Regions from separate parts of the Homo sapiens genome. Here region 1 is linked to region 2. The links are contacts of gene promoters, found by promoter capture Hi-C in human tissues and cell types (Jung and others, 2019). All regions are on one chromosome and are shown on one strand. The core of a region is centred on a gene start or on the middle of the fragment in contact, and the rest is flanking DNA. Distances in the headings are between cores, read along the strand shown.

Evidence for each region. The method cuts DNA at HindIII sites, captures the fragments that hold promoters and counts their contacts. A contact is called where the count stands out against the background at its distance.
Region 1: a contact is called between a fragment that was not itself captured here and the fragment with the promoter of NBPF1 in region 2, in 14 of the 25 tissues and cell types used here (H1 embryonic stem cells, IMR-90 fibroblasts, adrenal gland and 11 more).

Annotation. Positions count from the first base shown.
Region 1 is chr1:16,873,540-16,879,442 of GRCh38, forward strand. LINC03126 (long intergenic non-protein coding RNA 3126) reads left to right here. Exons shown (of 2, transcript NR_160658.1): 2 at 184-557. It also overlaps the pseudogene RNU1-5P. Among named protein-coding and RNA genes, the nearest start is that of TRE-TTC3-1, 3.9 kb to the left of the region's middle. RefSeq lists enhancers at 1,112-1,675, 1,676-2,238 and a silencer at 1,512-1,670. The HindIII fragment of the contact is 3,425 bases long and covers 1,025-4,449 here.
Region 2 is chr1:16,611,384-16,617,158 of GRCh38, forward strand. It overlaps NBPF1 (NBPF member 1), which reads right to left and starts at 2,181. Exons shown (of 18, transcript NM_001405701.2): 1 at 1,955-2,181. RefSeq lists an enhancer at 2,025-2,982. The HindIII fragment of the contact is 9,860 bases long and covers 1-5,775 here.

The DNA of each region.
Region 1 (5,903 bases), core at 1,487-3,986, 260 kb after region 2:
CGCTGCTGAGAGGCGGCCTGGGTTGTCTTGTGGGGTGACTGTCGGTGGAATCTTTGGTGGAGAGTGGTTTGGAAGAATGGCGAGGGGCGGCAGTGGGGAGGGTGGTGACCCTGAGCGACCGGCCAGGGCGAGGAGGCTGTGCTGTCCCTGCAGGCCATGTGCTCATTTCCACTTACCTGGCAGGGGAGAGACCGTGGTCACGAAGGGGGTTCTCCCAGAGTGAAGCTTCTTCATCTCACTCTAGAGTTGCTGATCCCTGTGATTTCCTCCATGTGGGAAACGGTGTTTGTGCTAGAAGAGGCTGCGCTCTTTACCTGACATAACGGGGTTCAAGACTGACAACGCCTCACGCCCACCCGAAAACGTTTACATGGCTTCCTTGTCTCTTTTTTTTTCTGTCCTAAAGTCGCCTCATCTTCACATCCCCTCTTTTTTTTCTTCCACACTCGAGAGTGTCTCTCTCTCTCAGTAAAAGCTCCACCAAATATTTGAAATATCTCAACCAGAAAGACTGCAATAAATACATTATTTCATTCGTGGAAGGTACAGACCAGCTAGATTGAGAGTTGCTTGATATTTTCTGCTAAACGGTGAGGCATAGAGCACTTGGAAGGTTTCTCTTTGGGCCACTGTTTGTGTACTCTTGGGTTTCCTTCTTTTCCCCAGACAGTATGGCGCTGTGGGGCCAGGGGTAAACCCTGCTTTCCGGCTTTCTGGCTGCAGATAAAGGCCTCAGCTGGTGCAGGAATCAAAAGCAAACCAAAAGACACGTGGGTTCGCCCCAGTGGGTCCAAGATAGAGTCTGACTGTACCAGGATTCCGATTAGAACAGAGGTTGCTGCAGGCACAACGCAGACTACTAACCACTAGAGAATCCCAAGGCGCCCCACACCTACTGCCCGTCGTTTTGCTTCCCCACCCCTCTATTATTTATTTGTATATTTTTTTGAGAGACAGAATTTCGCTTTGTCGCCCAGGCTGGAGGGCAGCGGCACGATCTCGGCTCACTGCTACCTCCGCCTCTTAGGTTCAAGCGATTCTCCTGCCTCAGCCTCCTAAGTAGCTGAGACTACAAACGTGCACCACCACGCCCAGCTAATTTTTGTATTTGTGGTAGAGACGAGCTTTCACCATGTTGGCCCGGCTGGTCTCGAACTCCTGACTTCAAGTGAGTGATCCACCCACCTCGGCCTCCCAAAGTGCTGGGATTACAGGCGTGAGCCACCGCCCCTGGTCCCCCGATTTTTTTTATTAATGTAAAAACATTATGCGATTTTTACTTCTTTATTCTTGGGCAGCTACAGGTTCTTGTGATTTTCTCTCACATCTTCTCCCCATTTCCCCCTCTCCATTCTGATACATGTCCCATCTTCTCTGCATCCAGCCGGTGCCCTCTGCACGGGCATCCTGGGCTGTCCCATTGTCTAGTCCTGGTCTCCCCTGCTTCTCCCTCCTCCTTGTCACGTTTTCCCTTTTGACTCCCCTGCCTCTTTCCCGCTCCCGCCCCACCGACCCCATCTACTGAAGCCGAGTTGAGTGAAGGGAGAGCAAGCGGAACAGATGATTGCCTGAAGGCGGCGCAAAAGAACAGAAAGAGCTACCGTGAGAGCCGTCGGGGAGTTCAGCTTCCCTTGGGCCCTACTTGGCTCAGGCTGGGGTCGCAGATCCAGGCATTTCCAGAGGCACTGGCTTCTGAAGCAGGCGAGGGTGAACGCAGGGTGAAGGCCATTCGGCCGCCCTTCTGGCTTCAGAGTCACGCAATGCACGCGTTTCTAACGTGCAGCAAGACGATTAGTCGACTCAGCCTCTCCGGTTTTCTGAAGCTTTGTAGTCTGCACAGTTGTCCCGCAGAAAGCGAATGGCAACTCCTAGGGTTTAGTGATTGCTTAATCTATATAGAGATGAAAGCAAGCGATTGAGGTTGTCTCTGTGGTGCAATCGGTTAGCGCGTTCGGCTGTTAACCATAAGGTTGGTGGTTAGAGACCACCCAGGGACGTGATTTTAAATGTTGGTTGTGACCAGGCGCAGTGCCTCACGTCTATTAATCCCAACGCTTTGATAGGCTGAAGTAGGGGAAGCCTCCACGGAGCTCAGAAGTTCAAGACCAGTGAGAATCCCACCTCATTTAAAAAAAAAAAAATGCAGTTGTATCTATCTCCTCAGACCCTTCAATGTATTTAAAAGTGAAAGACTGTTCCCTTGTGTCTTGTGCATCCCATGAGGACAGACAGCAGAAGGTCCCCCTCCAAGCCTCCTAGAAAATGAGATCTCTGCAGAACAAACTAGCTTGTATGTACGGGAAACGGAAAGTATTTGAAGGAACAAACTTCAAAAATTCTGCCTTGCTTTCCACAAAAATTAACCCATCACAGTCTGCCTTCAAGTGGCATCATACCTCTTCCCATGACTCCTCCCCCTGCCTTTATGCTATTGTCATGCATTTTACTTTACACCTGTTATAAACCTTACAATCCATCTCTATTACTTTTGTTTCAAGAGTCAGATGTGTTTTTGTTTGTTTGTTTATTTTTGTTTTTTTGTTGCTGGTGGTGGTGTTTTTAAGACGAGTCTCACTCTATCGGACAGGCTGGAGTGCAGTGGCACAGTCTTGGCTCACTGCAACCTCTGCTTTCCGGGTTCAAGCGATTCTCCTGACTCAGACTCCTGAGTAGCAGAGACTACAGGCTTGGGCCACCATATCGGACTAATTTCTGAATTTTTAGTAGAGAGGAAGGTTCACCATATTGGCCAGGATGGTCTCAAACTCCTGACCTCAAGTGATCCACCTTCCTTGAATCCCAAAGTGCTGGGATTCCAGGCGTGAGCCATCGTGCCCGGCTAAACAGTCAGATGTTAAAATTATATATTTGCCTATGTACATGTCATTTCTAGTGTCTTTTTTTTTTCATCCAGATTTTCATCTGGTGTCAGTTTCCTTCTGCCTGGAGGACTCCTTTAACTTGTCTATTAGGTGTCTTAAACTTGCACTGTCATTCACTGATGCTCTGTTCATTTAAAAAAAAACTTGTTGGCCGGGTGCGGTGGCTCACGCCTGTAATGCCAGCACTTTGCGAGGCCGAGGTGGTAGATCAGGAGGTCAGGAGATCGAGACCATCCTGGCTAACACGGTGAAACCCCGTCTCTACTAAAAATACAAAAAAATTAGCTGGCTGTGGTGGCGGGCGCCTGTAGTCCCAGCTACTCAGGAGGCTGAGGCGGGAGAATGGTGTGAACCCAGGAGGCGGAGCTTGGAACCTGTCAAAAGGCATTCTTAGCCTTAAAAGAAAAGCCAGGGACATCCCTTGCCTCAGGACTCTCGAACTTAGAAAAACCTTTCACCCTCTATGTGGATGAATAACAAGGGACAGCTTCAAATGTTCTAATTCAAAGGCTGAGGAATTGCTTTGGACCAGTGGCTTATTTCTCTAAACAGCTAGACCAGGTGGCAGCTAGGTGACTAGGAAGCTTGAGATCTGTGGCTACCATCACTTTATTGTTAGAAGAAACCAGTAAGTTTACCTTGGGACAAAAATTACATGCCATACCACCCCACCCCCACCCCCTGCCACCCCATGAAGTACAGTACAGAGGGTCCTAGAGGCAAAAGTACACCAATGGCTAACAGGGAGCCAGTTACTTAAATATCAGACCCTTCTGCTTGACACCCCAGATGTTACCCTGAAAGTATCCTGATTTTGAAACCCTGCTACTCTGTTGCTGCACCTCACATCTCAAGAAACAGATCCCAAACTCATTGACTCCTGTGTGGAAACCACGGAAGAGCTCTACTCTAGAAGGCCCAACCTTGAAGACAAGCTGTTGTCTAACCCAAATGTTGAGTGGTTTAGAGATGGAAATAGCTATATTCATGAGGGAGTAAGAAAGGAAGCTTAGCCAACAAGAAGTCATTGAGGCCAAGGGTTTACCTTCTCAGACTTCTGTTCAAAAAGCAGAATTAGCTGCTCTAATTAGGGCCTTCCAACCATGAAAAGACTTAAGCTGGACACGGTGGCTCACGCCTGTAATCCCAGCACTTTGGGAGGCCAAGGTGGGTGGATCACCTGAGGTTGGGAGTTCGAGACCGGCCTAGCCAACATGGCGAAACCCCGTCTCTACTAAAAATACAAAAATTAGCCGGGTGTGGTGGGGTGCGCCTGTAATCCCAGCTACTTGGGAGGCTGGGGCATGAGAATCCCTGAGTTTGCAGTGAGCTGAGATTGCAGTGAGCTGAGATCATGCCACTGCACTCCAGCCTGGGCGACACAGCAAGACTCCGTTTCAAAAAAAGAAGAAGAAAACCAAAACCTCAAGAGTCAATGTGTTGACTGACTCTAAATATGGGTTCCTGGTGCTCCATGCTCATGCAGCCATAGGGAAGGAAAGGGGACTATCAAGAGCCAAGGGATCCCCCACACAACTTTACTCAGATCTTGGAACTTTTAGATGCTGTCCAACTCCCAAAGAAATAACAATTACTCACTGCAGGGGACACCAGAAGGGAGACACTTTTATTATTAGAGGAAATTCCCTGGTGGAAAGAGCAGCTAAGGCCACAGCTAAGGAAACCCTGGTATTTCAGGCTGCTGCGCTACTACCAGGTACTGCATCCGTGTCAGTGACACCATACTATACCCCTAAGGAAATTAAAGGGACTGAGTAAAAGGCTTCCAGGGAGACCCCTCTGGATGGTTGCTAGAAAAGAACAAACTCTATTCCTGAGGCTGACAAATGGGAAATAATTAAACATTTTCATGATTCCTCACATTTGGGACAGGATTTTCCATTTAAATTAGTTTCCTAAATATTCTTGCGGAAGGGACTGTTCCAAACTATAAAAAGGGTTACCACTCAGGAAGCCACCCCATACCCCGATCCCTGCTTAAACCTGTACAACACCAAGGAACATACCATGGTGAAGACTGGCAGACAGACTTAACCCAGATGCCACCTTACAGGGGAGTACAAGATTTGCTAGTATTTATAGACACTTTCACCAGGTGGATAGAAGCTTTCCCCACAAGGACAGGAAAAGTACTGGAAGTGTCTAAATTCTTAAAGAAATCATTCCAAGATTTGGATTACCAAAAGGTTTGCAAGGTGACAACTGACCTCACTTCACAGCTAAGGTGACCCAGTGAGGTCATGCCTCAGCCTTAGGCATTACCTATCTTCACTCCTCATGGAGATCTCAGTCTTCAAATAACATAGAAAGCCAATCGCGACATTAGCAAAACTCTTTCAGTTTGGGGGCTTGCCTGCCCTGCGTCACTATCATTGTTTCCTTGGGTTTCCCAGGAATGTACATGTGTCAGACTGCCGCCCTGCTTATAGATCTGTTTCCCTGCAAGGAAACAGGAATATGTTGCCTGTGGCTTCCAGAGTTGGAGATACATGTAGTTGCACCCCTGAGGGCTAACATTTAATTTTGGAATCAAGTGATGCATTCAGACTGGTTGTTATCATTCTGTGGTATATATTTAGTGAACACATTCTGATTGAGTTTCCTGCTTTTAGCTGGAGCAAGAAAGTTTAATAATTGTGATTTGTATGAAAAAAATCATAGGCAAGGGAATGGGTGTAAAATAAACTTTATTGTCAGAGGTTTCTAAAGGCTCATCCTTCAAGGAAAACGGACATATGCTGAAGAGCTGATAAACCGTCTACAGCAGTGTTATTCTAAGCTAATCTTGATTCCAAGTTCTTGCCATTTTCCTCCAGCTGCTGTTGACTCCAGTTATATATAGGATGGGGGAAAGGGGATTATCTATGAATGTAGGCATCACTCTCTCTTGGGCAGTTATCACATTGGCAGACTGAAGGGATGTGATTTCTACAGTCAAACTATCCATTTGGAGTACAAATCTGGAGTGGCTGTAAAATTCGGTTCTCAGAGATGAACTTG
Region 2 (5,775 bases), core at 931-3,430:
CAGGGGGATCACCTGAGCCTTGTGAGGTCAAGGTTGCAGTGAGCTGTGATTGTGCCACTGCACTCCAGCCTGGGCGATGGAGTGAGATCCTGTCTCAAAAAGAAAAAAAAAAAAAGAGAATCTCCCTTCATGAAAAAACACCATAAAAGAGTGAAAACGCAAGCTACAGATTGAAAAAAGGGAAATGCAATACATATAAATCCTAGAAAGGAGGCATATCCAGAATAAAGTATTACAAATCAACAGGAAAACAAGCATATCAATGAAAACTGGATAAAAAGATTTAACAGGCACGTCACAAAAGAGGACATATAAATGGCAATAAAAGATACTCAATCTCAATGAAACCACACTGATATATTACTGCACCCCTACTAGAATGGCAAAATAATTTTTAACTGACAGGTATCAGCGAAGATGTGGGGTAACCAGCATATCCCTGCTAAATGGTACAACTACTTTGGGAAAATGTTCAACAATATGTAATACTAAAGTTTTATCATTCATATACCTCTAAAACCAACAATGCCACCCCTACAAATATACCCCAGACTAGTAATGTTCAATTTCTTGATCTGTGGTGGTTCACTTGGTAAAAATTCATTACTTTTTTTTTTTTTTTTTTGAGACAGGGTCTCACTCTGCCATCCAGGTCGGAGTGCACTGCCATGATCACGGCTCACTGCAATCTCAACCTCCCGGGCTCTGGTGATCCTCCCAACTCAGCCTACCGGGTAGCTGGGACTACAGGCACACGCCACCACACACAGCTAACTTCTGTATTTTTAGTAGAGAAAGGGTTTTGCCACATTGCCCAGGCTGGTCTGGAAATCCTGGGCTCAAGTGATCTACCCACCTTGGCGTCCCAAAGTGCTGGGATTACAGGTGTGATCACTGCGCCCGGGCCACCTGCACATGTAAAATTGTGAACTTCTGTATACTTCAGTAACTTTTCCAAGATTTCTTTGACGCAAAGTTCTCAGAAATCTTAAAGCTAGCATTTCAGAATAGAAAAAGTAGCTTCTGGTTCACTAGTGAAATTTTACCAATAGAATTTAAAAACAAAAAGCTACTAACGCATATCAGCTCAGAACACTACCAGCAGATCTTTTCTTTAACTTCCTGAAGCACTGGGATTCATTCTTTTGGCAAAGAAAGGATGAACAACACTGTAACCCAAAGAAAAGATACCACTGCCAGAAAAGACTTCTTTTCGAAAGCAGCTCTAAGCAAAAGATAGGAGGAAAACAAGGAAGCCAGGCCAAACGTCTTGGTTAACTCTCCGCTGAAAGGACGCCACATGAGATGATCTAAGAAGCCAGCCAGCCAGCCAGACGCAGGGAAATCACAGCAACTCTTTGGAGTGCAAACAGCAACCCCACAATCCAATCTACCCGAAATCCTGCGGTTCATTTGAGGCTTGCCCCGCTAGTCAGGAGGTGATTCAGTGATGGCTACAAATGCTGCTCATGTGCATCCTGGAGCTGGCACACCTGGCTTGCCCATCACCAGCCTGGAGACACCGCCAGGAGCAGAAGCCCGGAGGCCAGTAAAGACCCCAACTTTGCAAGTCAGGGGCGCGAGCGCGCTCGCCTCTCAGGTCCGCAGAGGGAACGGATTTCTGGCCTGGAGGGTGGGGTGCGGGGTCAGTGTCCTCTACAGGATATAGGAGGACGTGCCCCCGAAGCTGCTCCGTCCCTCCACCCCCTGGGATGCCACAGAACACCCGCCAGCGAGTTTCTTCCCCAGCGCCCACGAGAGTTGGGCTGCGGGCGGCAGCGGCAGGCGAAGAATCCAGCGCGGGGAACTCAGGCCCCGGCGGTGCACGACCCCCCACAGCCCCCACCCGCCCCCGCGCTCGCGCAACAAAACTTGCCACGGCCGCGCCTCGACCCAGCTGTGCGCCCGCGGGTCCCGGATTCACCGCCCGCCCAGCCTGGCGCGGCGCCCTCACCTCAGAAACGCTGGGTGGACTTCGCGTAACTTCCCATTCACAGGGCAGCCGGCAGCCGCGCCGCCGCGCCTCGGCCCAGCTCCTGGCGCCGCAGATCGCCCGTCCCGCGTTCCCAAAAGCACCGCGCTCGCTCAGAAGCTCGGGCAGCCTCGCGACCCTCACCTACGCCTCCCAGTACCGCCGCTGTCTCAACCGCCACCCAGCCCCTCGCCTGCGCCTGCGCCTGCAGCCCACTGGCTCCTCAGGATCCCGATGGGCGTGTCAGGATAACCCAAGGCGCAGGCGCGGCGGGGCCTTAAAGGGACCCGGCGGCCTCTTCTGCACAACGGGTTCGAGCAGGTTAGGGGCCGCGCAGGCGGAGGAAAGGAGTAACCCAGGGGAAGGACCGAGTGCAGCGGGGACGGGGAAATCCCTCTCTCCCCTCCGCCTGTCTTTCAAAGCACCAGCCCTCGACCCTCCAAATCGCTGGTTTCCCCGGCCACTTGAACAGCCCCTGCCAGGTTGAAGAGGCAGGAGACACACCCCCTCTGGGGCTGGAGCGACCCCGCGCTTAGGACTGCAGGCCTCGCGCTGCCGCACCGCCCCGAATCTGACTTCCAGGCACGGGCACGCGGTGCAGTCGGGCAGGCTTCAGAAGAGCCCCCAGCTCTCCCAGAGGTGGCCTTAGGTCACTCTCAAAAAGAATAACCAATGTGTCAATGGCACTTGTAGTTATTTTCTAATTTAAATTTATTAACAGATTTTGCAGATGGGCTTCCACTGAAATAAGCCTTTGAGAAAAAGAAAAACTTTTTTTTTCAACAGGATTAGAATACCAAGAAATAGGAAGTAAAGCCATGCCGTCCACCCAGCTAAAAACTTTGAAAACTTGATATTTTATCTAAGGCAAATGTTTGCATAACTTTAGGTCATGCCATTATTTAAAGTCAATTTCAGTTAACAATTTCATTGCAACTGAATCTATCTTGTATAAGAAAACTAAGATACATCCCTGATAATCTACCTCTCCCCTCCTATACTCCATCCGTCAGCAAATCCTACTGGTTTTTACCTTCCAAATTTTCCTTGAATCTGTCCTCTTCTATCTCCTCCGTCACCACCCTAGTCTAGGCTGCCTTCACCTGGGGAGTGAGGGTCGAGGGACTACTGACCTAGTCTTCTTGTGGTTTACCCATATCCCCTTTATCGCCTCTCTAATCTCAACACAACAGGCAGAGTGGCTTTTCCAAAATATAATGTGACCGTGTCACTTCCCAGCCTAAAGCACTTAAACACCTTCCCATTCTCTTAGACAAAACCTCCTAACTAACCAAGCCCCGAATGGCCAGGCGCCTTGCCCACTTCTTCATCTCTTCTCACTACTCAGACCAATTCTGTTCTGCTCTCTCTGCTCCAGCCAAACTGGCCTCTTTTATTCCCTATTTACCAGCTTCCTGGCCTCCACAGAGCTTTTGCTCATGCTTTGCTCTGTGCCTGGAAAGTTCTTCTAACCCCTATTCTTCTGAGAACAGCTGTAGTCTCCACCTCTGAAAAGCACCTTCTGACCTCCCTATGGTGGTCCCTTACTCCTATCACATTGCATGAAACTGTAATCGGGTGGTTATTTTGGTGAATTTTTTACTATCGGCTACGTAAGCCCAGGGTTTGGTTTTGTTTGCTTCATGATTTGTATTTCCACATTTGTTAAATACATATTTGTTCATAAATGAGAATGATGGATGCTAGAAGTTGAAGTAAATTTGGCATAAAGTCAGAGAAAGAGAAAATGTCACAATCTGACAGTTGGAGTCAGAATGTAGAAACTTCAGTTATATTAAAACTGATTTTATATCGTTTTAGGCTGAGTTGTCTTAGGATGCTTTGGGTAACCTTTAAAACTGAGTTCTCAAAGAGCCTTGTATAAACACCTGAATTAATAATGATAAGCCATGGGGTGGCCCACATAAAACTAATAACATTGGTTGCTTTAAGAGAGGAAGACTGAGCCAGGCACAGTGGCTCATACCTGTAATCCAAGCACTTTGGGAGGCCAAGGCCCGCAGATCATTTGAGCTCAGGAGTTTGAGACTAACCTGGGCAACTTGGTGAGACCCTGTCTCTACATAAAATACAAGCAAAATTAGCCAGGCGTGGTGGCGGGCACCTGTACTCCCAGCTATTTGGGAGGCTGAGGTGGGAGGATTGCTTGAGCTCAGGAGGTTGAGGCTGCAGTGAGCCATGATCATGCCACTGCATTCCAGCCTGGATGACAGAGCAAGATCTTGTCTCAAAGAGAGAGAGAGAGAGAGAGAGAAATGAAGACTGGTGACTGGTGGCTACTGGTGGGAAGGAGATTTTTACTAAATGCCCAAAAGGTTTAAAATTGTAACTTTTTTATTTCAAAGTCTGTGAAGATAAATGACACAAAAGAGCACATACCTTCCCATTTATTTGAAATTCTAGAAAGGGGAAAATTAATCTGTGGTGAAAAAATCATAGCAGTGGTTCCCTCTGGCAGGGGATTGACTGGGAAGTTACATGAGAGAAATTTCTGGGTGGTAAAAATGGTCTCTGTCTTGATAGGGATATGAGTTATATAAGTGTATTCATTTGTCAAAAAACATACAGTTAACATTTCAATGAATGTAAATTTTACCTTAAAAACTATACGAATAAATGCAAATTTAAAATCTGCTAGCTAACACCTAGTTGAGTACTCAGTGTCTATGGGCATTGGCCGAGGCTATACATACACGATTTTCTTTAGTCCTCATACCGTCCTCATGGGGTAGGTATTATTATCATAACCCCCTTGCATATGAAGAAGCCAAAATGCAGTAAATACCAAATAACTTGCCTCGATTTATACCCCTGGAAAATGCGGGAAGAGCTTTAAACACCATCAGTCAAATGCCAGAAGTTGTTAAACATTAGACTCTATAGCACTTCTCTGAAATTATAGTATTTTTGGTATATGTATATATATATATATATATATCATCTACTAGATCAAGAGCTTCACAATGATTGAAATCATAGTTTGTCTTTTTGTTTGAGGTTTATGTTTTTATTTTACTTCATTATTTTAAAGACTGAGTCTCGGCCGGGCACGGTGGCTCATGCCTGTAATCCCAACACTTTGGGAGGCCAAGGTGGGTGGATCACTTGAGGTCAGGAGTTCGAGACCAGCCTGGCCAACATGGTGAAACCCCATCTCTACTAAAAATACAAAATTAGCCAGGTGTGGTGGCACGTGCCTGTAATCCCAGTTACTCAGGAGGCTAAGGCAGGAGAATCGCTTGAACCTGGGAGGTGGAGGTTGCAGTGAGCCAAAATTGTGCCACTGCACTCCAGCCTGGCCGACAGAGTGAGACTCCATCTCAGAGAAAAAAAAAAAAAAGACTGAGTCTCACTATGCTGCCCAGGCTGGACTTGGACTCCTTCATTCAAGCCATCCTCCTGCCTAGGCTTCACCTGGGACTACAGGCCCAATATTTTTGTCTTAAGTTTCTAAGCAGTCCCAAGACTTTGCACAGTAGCTGTTCAATGTATTTTGAGTGAATGATTAAAAACAAGCTTGATGTCGATTTTATTGGTACAATTTATATTTACATATGTAATATTTATATGCTTTTATATATTTATGTGTGCATGTATATAATTGGTACTAACTTAGCACTGCTGTGCCTAAGTGCCTGAGATGCATCTCAAATGAATAGGCCTGAGGAGAGAAGCTTGTGTCATTAGCTCTGACCCTGCAGCACTAATCCTGGTTTACCCCTTTCTTTCAGTCTCCCTGAGCACAATTTATTTGCTGAAAGGCCACATCTCACTATGGAGTG